Linked DNA regions of Homo sapiens: region 2 is linked to region 1. Evidence: promoter capture Hi-C in 16 types of primary human blood cells and fetal thymus (Javierre and others, 2016). All regions are on one chromosome and are shown on one strand. Each heading gives the region's core, a stretch centred on a gene start or on the middle of the fragment in contact. The rest is flanking DNA. Distances are from core to core; before and after follow the strand shown. Region 1 holds the start of MOK (MOK protein kinase). Region 2 overlaps LINC02320 (long intergenic non-protein coding RNA 2320).

Region 1 (7,613 bases), core at 4,065-6,564:
TTACACGCATGTGCCGCCATGCCCGGTTAAGTTTGTATTTTTAGTAGAGACGAGGTTTTTCCATGTTGGTCAGGCTGGTGTTGCATTCCCGACCTCGGGTGATCCGCCCTCCTTGGCCTCCCAAAGTGCTGGGATTACAGGTGTGACCCACCGCGCCCAGCCTTCTTTTGTTTTCTTTCCTTTTTTTTCTTCTTTTCTTTTCTTTTTTTTTTTTAAGGAAGGGTCTGGCTCTGTCGCCCAGGCTGAAGTGCAGTGTCACCATCTCGGTTTCCTGCAGCCTCTGCCTCCCAGGCTTAAATGGTCCTCCCACCTCAGCCTCCTGAGCAGCTGGGACTACAGGCATGCACCACCATGCCCAGTTAAGTTTTGCATTTTTTTTTTTTTTTTTGAGACGGTGTCTCCCTCTGTTGCCCAGGCTGGAGTGCAGTGGTGCCATCTTGGCTCACTGCAACCTCCGCCTCCCGGGTTCAAGCAATTCTCTGCCTCAGAGTAGCCAGGATTACAGGTGCCCACCACCACGCCTGGCTAATTTTTTTATAGTTTTAGTAGAGACAGGGTTTCACCATCTTGGCCAGGCTGGTCTTGAACTCCTGACCTTGTGATCTGCCGGCCTCAGCCTCCCAAAGTGCTGGGATTACAGGCATGAGCCACCGCGCCTGGCCAATTTTTGTATTTTTTGTATTATTATTGTTATTTTTTGAGACAACGGCTCTCTCCTGTTGCCCAGGCTGGAGGTCAGTGGTGCAAACATGGCTTATTGCAGCCTCGATTTCCCAGGCTCAGGTGATTCTCCCACTTTAGGCTTCTGAGTAGCTGGGACTGCAGGCACCTGCCACCAAGCCCAGCTAATTTTTTGTATTTTTAGTAGATAAGGGGTTTCACCATGTTGCCTCGGCTGGTCTCGAACCCCTGAGCTCAAGCCATCCGCTTGCCTCGGCCTCCTAAAGTGCTGGGATTACAGGTGTGAGCCACTATTCCTGGCCAGGAAACCTTTTCTTACACTTAAAAAATTCTAAATGTATTTCTTTGAGTTCCTTTTTCTCAGAAACCTACACAGACTTCTTCGTAGACAGAATTTTACCTATTTTTGCATCCACACTAGACCAGGATCTAATTTCTAGAGTGCTTGGTTAACTACCATCCTTCATGTTAATTTCAGTGGCTAATGTTTTTGCTCCTCCTTATTTAATATCCTTGTTCAAGCTTAGTTTTCCCTGAGATGTGTTTATTATTTTACAAAATCAATCTAATTTCTAATATCTTTAGGTAGATTTGCGTTTTACCCACTTTAACAGTGTTAACACGTTTGAAATGTCTGTCATCCCTAGCTTTTCTGACTTGTTTCCTGGTTTGAACCTTAATTCAGATGCTCAGCAGAAGGAAATAGGTTGTCTGCTAAACATAGCCACATGGCTGAATCCCTTGACATTGGCAAATAGGGAAAAACTAATGCTAGAATATGGGATGAACAGTCTGAGGGAGTTTTAGAACGATTCAAAAAGCTCAAGTGGTTATAATTAGGTAGTGTTCATACAGTTTTAAAAGCGGAGCTCTGGAACTGGGCGCGGTGGCTAACGCCTGTAATCCCAGCACTTTGGGAGGCTGAGGCAGGTGAATCACCTGAGGTCAGGAGTTCGAGACCAGCCTGACCAATATGGTGAAACCCCATCTCTACTAAAAATACAAAAATTAGCCAGGTGTGGTGGCACGTGCCTGTAGTCCCAGCTACTTGGGAGGCTGAGACAGGAGAATTGCTTGAACCTGGGAGGCAGAGGTTGTAGTGAGCCGAGATCAAGCCACAGTACTCCAGCCTGCGTGACAGAGCAAGACTCTGTCTCAAAAAAAAAAATTTAAAAATAATAACTTAATAAAAAAAAAAAGCAGAGCTCTGAGATGCGTGGTGGTTCCATTTCACAAGCGTTTCCTGAGCATGTAATATGTGCTGAGCAGGCTCCTGGCTCTGGGTGAGCTGGGCAGGTGAGAGGCTTGGGGTGAAGACCCTCTCTGGAGGAGTTCACAGCCTGGTACTTCTTACTTATCTGTCCATTCAGGGCTGGAGTGGCCCAGCTAGGCAGGTGCTGAGGCCACCCAGCTGAAGCCTGAACAGGTTGACCCCTCCGCTGATGTTTGAGCGTGTTTACCACAGGAAGAGAAGCTCCTCAGCAATTGTTCCTTCTTTTCAAAGCAGCATTTCCTATTTCATTTAGAATTAAAGAAAGAATAAGGAATTCTCTAGGCCAGTGGTTTTCAAAATATGGCCACTGGTGCAGCATCACCTGGAATTTTGTGAGAGCTGCAAACTATCCCCCACTCCAGACTTACAGATTTAGAAATAATGGGGCGGAAATCCCTGATCGAATGGAACATTCTGGAGTTCGTCCCCTCACCCAACCTTAAGATGAACTTGGAACAAGGGTGCTCAGCCAGAGGGGCAGGTGAGGCCGCAAGTCCAGCTGCCCCTGTTCACCTAGGTAAGCACATAGACTGTGTCTACCCCCTGGGGGCACCTTGCTCTAAATCATCTGCCCAATCAGGACCAACATGGTCTCTACAACGTCACTTCTGAGAACCACTTGTCCACAATGAAGGGAAGAAGAAAATCCATCAGCACCTGGTGAATTGGGAAACAATGGGGCTCTCACTTGCTAAATGCATTCACCTGTTCACTTATTTAATACACTCTGCCCTGCAGGGTAGAGAAAAGACACATGAGGGGCCCAAGGAACTTAGAACCCACCTGGTTAGAAGAAACTAACAAGCAAGAGACAGGGTTAGAAATATAAATGTGACATAAGGGCAAGCCCCCAAATAAGAAAGAACACAAGAAGAGAAGAAGGGATAGATCAAATCCTAGTGGTCTGGAGAGATTAGATGTGGCTTCTCAAAGCCAACAAAGATAGCACCACCAACAATAATACACCAGCAATAATCGCTATTTATTTTTTCAACTTTTTTATTGAGAGAAAATTTACATAAAATTCACCATTGTAACCATTTATTTATTTATTATTTTTTGAGATGGAGTCTTGCTCTGTCGCCCAGACTGGAGTGTAGTGGCAGGATCTCGACTCACTGTAGCCTCCACCTCCTGGGTTCAAGTGATTCTCCCGCCTCAGCCTCCTGAGTAGCTGGGATTACAGGAGCGCATCACCACACCTGGCTAATTTTTGTATTTTTAGTAGTGACAGGGTTTCACCATGTTGGTTGGCCAGCTGGTCTCGAATTCCTGACCTCAGTTGGTCCATCCTCCTCGGCCTCCCAAAGTGCTGGGATTATAGGTGTGAGCCACCACGCCTGGCTTGTTTTGTATTTTATTTATGTATTTGCTTTTTTAGACGGAGTCTCACTCTGTCGCCCAGGCTGGAGTGCAGTGGCGCAATCTCGGCTCACTGCAACCTCCGCCTCCCGGGTTCAAGCAATTCTCTGCCTCAGCCTCCCGAGTAGCTGGGATTACAGGTGCCTGCCACCACACCCGGCTCATTTTTCTATTTTCAGTAGAGATGGGGTTTCACCATCTTGGCCAGGCTAGTCTTGAACTCCTGACCTGGGGATCCACCCGCCTTGGCCTCCCAAAGTGCTGGGATTACAGGCATCAGCCACTGTGCCCAGCCGTTTTGTATTTTTTTAGTAGAGACGGGGTTTCCCCCATGTTGGCCAGGCTGGTCTCGAACTCCTGGACTCAAGTGATCTGCCTGCCTCGGCCGCCCAACGTGCTGGGATTGCAGGTGTGAGCCACCGCGACCGGCCGCTTTCTCTTTCTTTCGAGACAAGGTCTTGCTTTGTCACCCAGGCTAGAGTGCAGTGGTGCTATCATAGCTCACTGAGCCTAGAACTCCTGGTCTCAAGATACCTCCGCCTTATTCTCCTGAATAGCTGGGTTTACAGGCATGTGCCACCGTGCCCGGCTTTTTTTTTTTTTTTTTTTTTTTTTTGAGTCTCTTGCTCTGTCGCCCAGGCTGCAGTGCAGGTGGTGCAATCTCGGCTCACTGCAAGCTCCGCCTCCAGGGTTCACGCCATTCTCCTGCCTCAGCCCCCGGAGTAGCTGGAACTATAGCGCCCGCCACTACGCCCGGCTAATTTTTTTTGTATTTTTAGTAGAGATGGGGTTTCACCGTGTTAGCCAGGATGGTCTCGATTTCCTGACCTCGTGATCTGCCCGCCTTGGCCTCCCAAAGTGCTGGGATTACAGGCGTGAGCCACCACGCCCGGAGTTTTTTTTTTTTTTTTTTTAAGAGGGAAGTGGGGTTTCTCTATGTTGCCCAGGCTGGTCTTGAATTTCTGGCCTCAAGCGATCCTCTTGCCTCGGCCTTCCAAAGTGCTGGGATTACAGGTGTGAGCCACCACACCTGGCCAATTCAGTCTTAAACCAATTTTCTGAGGCTTCGTTTTGGCAAGGCTACTTATCTGTTTTAAAAATAAACGATGTATTTTAGTAAAAGAAAAAAAATGGAGGAAAAAACAGGGTTTTGATCTCATGGAATAATTATGAGGCTAATCTAATGAGCTTCATAAAATACTATACCCATACATAGTATGCTTGTTATTTTATTGTTTTGTCAGGGTCCAGAGAACTAGGCCACTGTGTTGCTTAGGCACCGTGTCTGCACATAGTTCATTCCGGTGTACATTCATTCATCTTTACACTAGAATGTTAGTTTCAAGAACTCAGTCACCTCGTCTACACTGTCCTTTAATCCCCAATACCTGCGACAGTTCCTGGGGCAAAAACAAATGCTTGTTGAATTAAAAAGAAAAACTGGGCCGGGCGTGGTGGCTCACGCCTGTAATCCCAGCACTTCGGGAGGCCGAGGCAGGCGGATCACCTGAGGTCAGGAGTTCGAGACCAGCCTAACATGGTGAAACCCCGTCTCTACTAAAAATACAAAAACATTAGCCGGGTGTAGTGGTGGGTGCCTGTAATCCCAGCTACTTGGGAGGCTGAGGCAGGAGAATCGCTTGAAGCCGGGAGGCGGAGGTTGCAGTGAGCCGAGATCACGCCATTGCACCCCAACCTGGGTAACAGAGCGACACTCTGTCTCAAAAAAAAAAAAAAATTCCTGTAGAAGCTCCCAAGCCCAATTAAAGCTCAAGGCTATCGTCCACGTAGTGGGTTCCAAATCGCTAAGTTCCCAGGCCAGCAGGGAGAGCGAGCCGAGCGAAGGTCGCCTGTGTCAAAGGCGGGGATTTGCACAGTATTTACATGGAAGCGGAGGAAAGGCTGCTTAGCAACCGGGCTGAGGGGACGGGCTGCACTGCGCACGCGTACATGGGCGGGGCATCTTGCGCATGCGCAGGCGACAGCTCATGGCGTTCAGGGCCTGACGGTTGCTAGGGTGACAGGGACACAACATGGCGGCGGGATCTCTAACGCTCTCCTTCGAGGGACCACCACGGAGATCCTAGTGCGGGACCCCGCCTCAGGGAAGTGGAAAGCAGGGGGACAACCTTCCTGCTTCTTTCTTTTCCGTCCAGTGTCGGCAAGGGGTTGTCACCGGCTTCCGCATCCAAGATGAAGAGTGAGTGGGGCCGGGGAAAGGGGCAGGGACTGGAGAGCGAGTGGCGGGGGAGGGAGGGACTGGGGGAGCTTGAGGAGCTTGAGGGGCCTGTGGGGCCGGGCGTCGTCGCCTTCTGCCGTGGCTCGACAGGCCCGGGAGGCTCCGCATGTGGGCCCCGAATCCCCCTCGGCTGTGAGAAGCCGGTGCCCCTGGGGGAAGCTTGAGGGGTTGGGGCTAGGTTGGGAACTTTGGGGTCTCGGAGAGCCGACTCGAGTTCCCGCTCAGGCATATTTTGGTGCAGGTGCGTGGTTCTTACATTGGAGTTTAGGGAGTTGACTGTGATTCATTTTATTTTATTTTAAATGCTGGCTTGAACCTGACACTCTTTTCCTGAACATTCGGCAGAAAACGGGGGAGCGCTTACAGCGTGGCTCCCTGCCTTTTCATGATACTGGTTTAGTGACCAATTGAGAGGAAAGCTGGGCTGTGTGCTTTATTTTATTTTTTGGGTCAAGCAGTAGTGTTTTATAGGAACCACTTTTTAATAGTAGTTTTGAAGCAACCTTTTAGTTAAAAGCTGTTACTTCAAAGTTGGGAAATGAGGTAGTCATTCTAGAAAATGTAACGGGTAAAAAATTTTCTTTAGTGGGATTTGTGGATTATTGACAATCCAAGTGCAACCAGCTAGAATGATGTTTTTAAAATTATTATTACTGTACAGATATAATTGTTTATGGTTGTGAACCAGAGGTGCAGTAAAAATTCAGACCTTTGCTGTGAAAATATTATGTTAGGAGTAGTTATAATGTTAAATTTGCATTGTATCCTAATTGTCAATGGTGTACATTGCATAACATTTAAAATAATTAATCTCATTCACCCTTTACAAGGCATTTTTATTTTTATTTTATTTTGTTGGATATTGTTTAATGTTTACCTTTTTCATTAATGCACTACAAAGCTGTAGTTAGAATCCAAGGTCTACAAAAGACTTTACACTTTTACTTACAGTGCAGACTATGATACTGCACATATTTTGTACTATATTCATTTTTTTCTTCCCATCTGTTTGTTTTGAAAATTTTCAGATGTACAGGAAAGTTGCAAGAGCAGTACATTGAATATTTATAAACCCGTCCTTCACTTAGCTGCACCATTTTGCCTTATTTTTGTGTGCTCGCTTTCGCTCTGGTGTTTTCTCTCTCCCATTTATGTATTTATTTTCACTGGACCTTTCAAGAGTTAGTTGTAGACTACTAATAATTCACCACTTCTTTCAGCAGTTATCTGCCAAGAACAAGGACATTCTCCTACATCATCACAGTACAAATAACACATTTAGAAAATTTAACAATGATACAATACTCTGATACACAGTCCATATTTCAGTTTTTCCATTTATCCCAATAACATGTGTTATAGTTGTTTATATTTTTTCTATCCAATCAAGAATCACCAATTGTATTCTGTTGTCATATCTCTTTGGTCTCTTTTAATATGGTGTCCCTGCCTTTTGTGTCTTTCATGACAATGATATTTTCATTTTTATTTGGCTGTCCTCTGTAGGCCAAATGACATTTTTAAAGAATCCAGCCCAGTGTTTTGCAGAATATCGCTCAATTTGGATTTGTCTGATTTTCGCCTCATGATTAGCTTCAGCTTAAATGTTTTTACCAGGAATATGTGAGAGGCAACGTTGTGTCTCTGTCAGTGTGGCCCTTCCAGAGTGCCTGATGTCAGTTCGTTGCAGTTTTGCTGAAGTTAGATTTGATCATTTGGTTTATTTATCTACCTTCTTTTTCTCTTAGACTCTTTTTTTTTTTGGACAGGGTCTCTCTGTGTCACCCTGGCTGGAGTGCAGTGGTGCAATCTTGGCTCACTGCAACCTCTGCCTCCCGGGTTCAAGTGATTCTCCTACCTCAGCCTCCCAAGTAGCTGAGATTACAGGTGTGCACCACCACGCCCAGCTAACTTGTATTTTTTGGTAGAGACGGGGTTTCAACATGTTGGCCAGGCTGGTCTCAAACTCCTGACGTCAAGCGATCCACCCGCCTCAGCCTCCCAAAGTGTTGGAATTACAGACGCGAGCCACTGTGCCTGGCCTTCCTCTTAGACTCT
Region 2 (7,539 bases), core at 385-2,884, 600 kb after region 1:
AGCTGTCAGTAGATCTACCATTCTGGGATCTGGAGGATGGTGGCCCTCTTCTCACAGCTCCACTAGGCAGTGCCCTGGTAGGGCTACAAGATGAGATTTGGGCAGGGACACAGAGCCAAACCATATTAGATAGATAGATAGATAGATAGATAGTTAGATAGATATAGATTTGCTATAAGGAATTGGCTCATGTGATAATGGAGGCTGAGAAGTCCCAAGATTTGCAGTGGGCAAGGTGGAGAACCAGGAGAGCTGCTGATCCAAAGGCCAGCAGCCTCAAGACCTAAGAAGAGTTATGTTTCTCTCTGAGCCCAAAAGCCTGCAAGACCAATGTCTCAGGTCAACAAGTCTGGTAGGAGGCATTCCCTCTTACTCAATCTTTTTATTCTACTTAAGTCTTCAGTTGATTGGGTGAGGTCCACCCACATTGGGGAGGGCAATCTGTTGTGCTCAGTCTACTGATTGAAATGTTAATCTCATCCAGAAACACCCTCACAGACATACTTAGAATAATGTTTGGCTAAATATCTGAGCCACCTGTGGCTCAGTCAAGTTGATACATAAAATTAACCATCACAAGTAGTGAATTACTCTGATTTTTTTTTTTAGATTTACAGAGAAGTTGCAAAGATGACACAAAGAGTTTCTCATATGCCCTTCATTCAGTTTCCCCTATTGCTTTTTATATCTTATTCATTTATCTTTATTTTTAATTTTTGTGGGTACATAGCAGTGTATGTATCTATGCGGTACATGAGATATTTTGATACAGGCATGCAATTTGTAATAATCACATCAGGGGAAATGGGGTGTTCATCACTTCAAGCATTTATCATTTTTTTGGTGTTACAAACAATCCAATTATACTCTTTTAGTTATTTTAAAAATATTTAATACATTATTGTTGACTTTAGTCACCCTGTTGTGCTATCAAATACTATATCTTATTCATTCTATCTGAATATATCTTTGTACTCCTTAACTGTCCCTACCCTCCACCCCTTTCTACCCTTCCCAGCCTCCAGTAACCATCATTCTACTCTCATCTCCATGAATTCCATGGTTTTAATTTTTAGCTCCCACAAATGAGTGAGAACATGTAAAGCTTGTCTTTCTGTGCCTGGCTTATTTTACTTAACATAATGTCCTCCATTTCCATCCATGTGGTTGCAAATGACAGAATCTCATTCTTTTCTATGGCTGAATAGTACTCCATTGTGCATATGTACCACATTTTATTTATTCTTTTGTTGATGGACACCTCGGTTCCAAATCTTGGATATTGTGAATAGTGCTGCAATGCATGAGAGTGCAGACATCTCTTTGATTTACTGATTTACTTTCTTTTAGGTATATCCCTATCAGTGGGATTGCTGGATCCTATGGTAGTTCTATTCTTAGTTTTCTTTTTGTTTTTTGATTATTTTTTTCTTTTTTGGGATGGAATCTCGTTCTGTTGCCCAGGGTGGAGTGCAGTGGTATGATCTTGGCTCACTGCAACCTCCACCTCCCAGGTTCAAGAGATTCTCCTGCCTCAGCCTCCTGAGTAGCTGGGATCACAGGCACGCACCGCCATGCCCGGCTATTTTTTGCATTTTTAGTAGAGACAGGGTTTCGTTGTGTTGGCCACGCTGGTCTCGAACTCCTGACCTCAGGTGATCCACCCGCCTTGGCCTCCCAAAGTGCTGGGATTGCAGGCAGGAGCCACTGCGCCCTGTCTATTTTTAGTTTTCTGAGGAAGCTCCATGTTGTTTTCCAAGTGGCTGCACTAATTTACATTCCCACCAACAGTGTACGAGGGTTCCCTTTCTCAACACTCCAGCATTCATTATTTCCTGCCTTTTAGATAAAAGCTATTTTAACTAGTATGAGATGATGTCTCATTGGAGTTTTGATTTGTGTTTCCCTGATGATCAGTGATGTTGAGCACCTGTTCACATAGCTGTTTGCCATTTGGATGTATTCTTTTGAGAAATGTCTATTCAATCTTTTGCCCATTTTAAATCAAATTGTTAGATTTTTTTTCCTATTGAATTGTTTGAGCTCCTTATATATTCTGGTTATTAATCCCTTGTCAGATGGATAGTTTGCAAATATTTTCTCTCATTCTGTGGATTGTCTCTTCACTTTGTTGCTAGTTTCCTTTGCTATGCAGAAGCTTTTTAATGATGTGATTTTTTAAAATGTGATTCCATTTGTCCATTTTTTGCTTCGGTTGCCTGTGCCTGTGAAGTATTACTCAAGAAATCTTTGTTCGTACCAATGTCCTGGAGAGTTTCTCCTATGTTTTCTTTTAGTAGTTTCATAGTTTCAGGTTTTAGATTTAAGTCTTTAATCCATTTTGATTTGATTTTTGTGTATGGTGAGAGAGCGATCTGGTTTCATTCTTCTGCATATGAACATCCAGTTTTCCCAGCACAATTTACTGACGAGACAATCCCTTTCTCAATACATGTTCTTGAAAGCTTTGTTGAAAATGAGTTCACTGTGGCTGTATGGATTTATTTCTGGGTTCTCTATTCTGTTCCATTGGTCTATGTGTCTGTTTTTATGTCAGTACCATCCTGTTTTTGTTACTTCATTGCTATAGCTCTGTAGTATAATTTAAAATCAGGTAATGGGATTCCTCCAGTTTTTTTTTTTTTTTTTTTTTCCTCATGATGGTTCTGACTGTTCTGGGCCTTTTGTGGTCCCATATAAATTTTAGGATTTTTTTTCTATTTCTGTGAGGAATTTCATTAGTACTTTAATAGAGATTGCACTGAATCTGTAGATTGCTTTGGGTAGCATGGACATTTTAATAATATTGATTCTTCTAATCCATGAACATGGAATATCTTTCCATTTTTTGGTGTCCTCTTCAATATCTTGCATAAAAGTTTTTATTGTAAAGATTTTTCACTTCCTTGGTTAAGTTTATTCCTAGGTATTTTGTTTAATTTGTAGCTATTGTAAATGGGATTACTTTCTTGATTTCTTTTTCAGATTGTTTGCTGTTAGCATATAAAAATGCTACTGATTTTTGTATGTTGATTTTGTATTCTGCAACTTTACTAAATTTGTTTATCAGTTCTAATAGCCTTTTGGTGGAGTCTTTCGTTTTTTTCAAGTATAAGATCATATTATCTGCAAATAAAAATAATTTCACTTCTTCCTTTCCATTTTGAATGCCTTTTATTTCTTTCTTTTGTCTGATTACTCTAGCTAGGACTTCCAGTACTATGTTGAATAACAGCGATGAAAGTGGGCATCCTTGTCTTGTTCCAGATCTTAGAGAAAAGGCTTTCATTTTTCCGCATTCACTATGATATTAGTATGATCAACTTATATATATATATATATATATATATATATATATATATATATATATATATACATATATATTATATATGAAAGTTGAAGGATGCAAAAACTGGGTATAGAAGGAACATATCTCAACATGAAAGCCATGCTTTTTATTGTGTTGAGGCATGTGCCTTTTATACCCAGTTTTTGAGTTTTTTTTTTCAAATCATGAAAGGATATGGAATTTTATCAAATGCTTTTTCAGCATCAGTTGAAATGATCATATGGTTTTTCTCCTTTATTATGCTGATATGATCTATCACATCGATTGACCTGTGTATGTTGTTCCATGCATGCAGTCTTGGGATAAATCCCACTTGGTCATGATGAATGATCTTTTTAATGTGCTGCTGAATTTGTTTGCTGGTATTGTGTTGAGTATTTTCGCATCAATGTTCATTGGGGATATTGGCCTGTAATTTTCTTTTTTTCATGTGTCTTTGTCTGGTTTTCATATCAGGGTAATACTGGCCTCATAGAATGAGTTTGGAAGTATTCTCTCTTCCTCTGTTTTTTGGAATACTTTGAGTAGGATTGGTATTAGTTCTTCTTTAAATGTTTGGTAAGATTTAGCAGTGAAGCCATTGGGTCCTGGGTTTTGCTTTGCTCGGAGATTTTTTTTTTATTATTACGGCTTTGATCTCATTACTTGTTATTGATCTATTCACATTTTGGATTTCTTCATGGCTCAATCTTTGTAGATTGTATGTGTCTAGGAACTTATCCATTTCTTCTAGGTTTTTCAATTTATTGGCATATAGTTGATCATAGTAGTCTCTAATCATCCTTTGAATTTCTGCGGTATCAGGTGTAATGTCTCCTTTTTCATCTCTGATTTTATTTATTTGGGTCATCTTTCTTTTTTTCTTAGTCTGGTTAAGGGTTTGTTGGTTTTGTTTATCTTTTCAAAAAGCCAACTTTTTGTTTTATTGATCTTTTGTACATTTTTTATTTCAATTTCATTTATTTCTGCTCTGATTTTTATTCTTTCTTTCTTCTACTAATTTTGGGTTTGTTTGCTCTTGCTTTTGCAGTTCTTTAAGATGCAATATTAGGTTGTTTATTTGAAATTTTTCTGCTTTTTTGATGTAGGTGCTTATTGCTGTAAACCCTCCTTTGAGTATTGTTTTGGCTGTATCCCATAGGTTTTGGTATGTTGTGTTTCTATTGTCATTTCTTCAAGAAAATTTTAAATTTTCATCTTAATTTCTTCATTGACCTGCTGGTCATTCAAGAACATATTGTTTAATTTCCATGTGTTTGTACAGTTTCCAAAGTTTCTCTTGTTATTGATTTCTAGTTTTGTTCCATTGTGGGCAGAGAATATACTTGATATAATTTCAGTTTCTTTGAAATTTTAAAGATTTGTTTTGTAACCTAACATATGGTCTATCATTGAGCATGATCCATGTGCTGAGGAGAAGAGTGTGTATTCTGGAGCTATTGGATGATATGTTCTGTAAATATCTGTTAGGTTCTTCTGTTCTATGGTGCAGATTAAGTCTGATGTTTGTTTGTTGATTTTCTCTCTGGATGATCTGTCCAATGCTGAAAGTGGGGCATTAAAGTCTCCAGCTATTATTGTATTGGGGTCTATCTCTCTCTTTAGATCTAATAATATTTGCTTTATATATCTTGAGGCTCCAGTGTGGGGTGTATATATATTTGCAACTGTTATATCCTCATGCTGCATTGCCCCTATCATTATATAGTAAACTTCATCTCTTTTTATAGATTTTTGTCTTGATATTATTTAATCTGATAGAAGTATAGCTACTGCTACCCTTTTTTTGGTTTCCATTTGCATGGAACATCTTTTTCCATCCCTTTATTTTCAGTCTATATGTGTCCTTATGTGTGTTTCTTGTAGGCAACAGATCATTGGGTCTTGTTTTTATAAAATCCATTCAGCTACTCTGTGTGTTTTGATTAACGAGTTTAGCCCATTTACATTCAATGGTGTTATGGATAAGTAAGGACTTATTACTGCCATTTTGTTACTTGTTTTCTGGTTGTTTTGGGGTCTTCTCTTCCTTCCTGTCTTCCTTTTTGTGAAGGTGATTTTCTCTGGTGGTATGTTTTAATTTCTTGATTTTTGTGTATCTGTTGTAGGTGTTTTGATTTGAGATTACCATAAGGCTTGCAAAAAACATCTTAAAAGCCGTTATTTTAAACTGATGACAACACTAATTGCAAAAACAAACTAACAAATAGGCAAAGAGAAAATGAATAAAAACTACACTTTAACTTCATCCCCCCTACGTTTAAACTTTTTTTCTATTTATATTTTATTATACTGTCTGTATCTTAAAAAGTTGTTGTAGTTATTATTTTTGATAGGTTCATCTTTTTGTCTTTCTACTCAAGATATGAGTAGTTTACATACCATAATTACAGTGTTATAATACTGTGTGTTTGTGTACAATATTAAGAATATTACCAATAAGTTTTGTACCTTCAGATAATTTCTTATTGTTAATGTCCTCTTCTTTCAGATTGAAGAACTCCCCTTAACATTTCTTGTAGGACAGGTCTGGTATTGATGACATCCCTTGGCTTTTGTTTGCCTGGGAAAGTATTTCTTCTTGATGTTTGAAGGATATTTTTGCTGGATTTACTATCCAAGATAAAAGTTTCTTCAGCACTTTAAATATGTCATGCCACTCTCTCCTGGCCTGTAAGTTTTCCACTGGGAAGTCTGCTACCAGATGTATTGGAGCTCCTTTGTATGTTATTTGTTTCTTTTCTCTTGCTGCTTTTAGGATCCTTTCATTATCCTTCACATTTGGGAGTTTGATTATTAAATGTCTTGAAGTAGTCTTATTTTGGCTAAATTGGCCTGGTGTTCTATAACCTTCTTGTACTTGACTATGGATATATTACAGTAGATTGGGAAAGTTCTTTATTATTATCCCTTTGAGTAAACTTTCTATCCTAATCTCTCTACTTCCTCTTTAAGGTCAATAACTTAGATTTTCCGTTTTGAGGCTATCTTCTACATCTTGTAAGCATGCTTCATTCTTTTTTATTCTTTTTTCTTTTGTCTCCTCTGACTATTTTCAAACAGCCTGTCTTCAAGCTCACTAATTCTTCCTGCTTGATCAATTCTGCTCTTGAGAGACTCTGATGCACTCTGCAGTATGTCAGTTGAATTTTTCAGCTTCAGGATTTCTGCTTGATTTTTAAAAATTATTTCAATTTGTTGGTTACATTTATGATAGGATTCTGAATTCCTTCTCTGTGTTATCTTGACTTTTGTTGTGTTTCCTCAAAACAACTATTTTTAATTCTCTGTCATATATGTCTGTTACTCTAGAATTGGTCATTGGTGTCTTATTTAGTTCATTTGGTAATGTCATGTTTTCCTAGATGTTCATTGATGTCCACCTCGGCCTCCCAAAGTGCTGAGATTACAGACATGAGCCACTATGCCTGCCAGCCTCCCTCCCCTTTTTCCTATTGGGAATATCCAAAACTTGTTGCAGAAAGAATTATCTTTTAACATAAACAAATATGTGCATGGTATCATTCAGATCACTTACCCTAATCTTTGAACAACGTTTGAGGTAGTAAAAAGCTGTGAGATGAAAGAAATCAGAGTTTCAGATCTTCCATAGTGACATGGCTAGACAGGCAGAATATAGGTTTCCAAATACAGATGCTAGCTCTGAAGTGTGTGCTCCTAACCATCACATTAGGCCACCTCTCTTGAAGCCATTACTCTTTACAAAGAAGTATTCTAGGGATTATATAGAGCATCTCCATCTAAAAAAGTTTTTGTTCAAGTGTTACATGTATAAAGCTACACAAGATACAGGTGTACAGTTTGATGGATTTTATTAAATAGACACACTTCTGTAACCAGCATGCAGATCAAGAAAGATAATAATTACCAAACCACCAGGGGCCCCACTTAAGCCATCTTATGGTTTTTAAACCTCCCAAAGGGTGATCTCTCTATAGATGTCTAACACTACAGATTATTATATAATAATTTTGTCTGTTTGAACTTTTCATAAATAGAATAATTTTGTACGTACTCTTCTGTCTTCTTCTCTCAATACCATTGGTTTGAGATTTGTCCATATTGTGTGTAGTTGCATTTTGTTGGTTCTCATTGCTGAATACTATTGCATTGTGCAAGTAGAACACTATTTATTCATCCTTCAGCAGATAGACATCTGTTCAGTGCCT

Evidence for each region. The method cuts DNA at HindIII sites, captures the fragments that hold promoters and counts their contacts. A CHiCAGO score of 5 or more calls a contact.
Region 2: a contact is called between a fragment that was not itself captured here and the fragment with the promoter of MOK in region 1, in 1 of 17 cell types (naive B cells). The highest score is 6.2, in naive B cells.

Annotation. Positions count from the first base shown.
Region 1 is chr14:102,302,865-102,310,477 of GRCh38, reverse strand. It overlaps MOK (MOK protein kinase), which reads left to right and starts at 5,314. Exons shown (of 12, transcript NM_014226.3): 1 at 5,314-5,516. The coding sequence starts at 5,510. RefSeq lists enhancers at 5,095-5,144, 4,911-5,433. The HindIII fragment of the contact is 4,511 bases long and covers 1,206-5,716 here.
Region 2 is chr14:101,694,758-101,702,296 of GRCh38, reverse strand. The region is part of intron 1 of LINC02320 (long intergenic non-protein coding RNA 2320); the gene reads left to right. Among named protein-coding and RNA genes, the nearest start is that of LINC00239, 32 kb to the left of the region's middle. The HindIII fragment of the contact is 1,053 bases long and covers 1,108-2,160 here.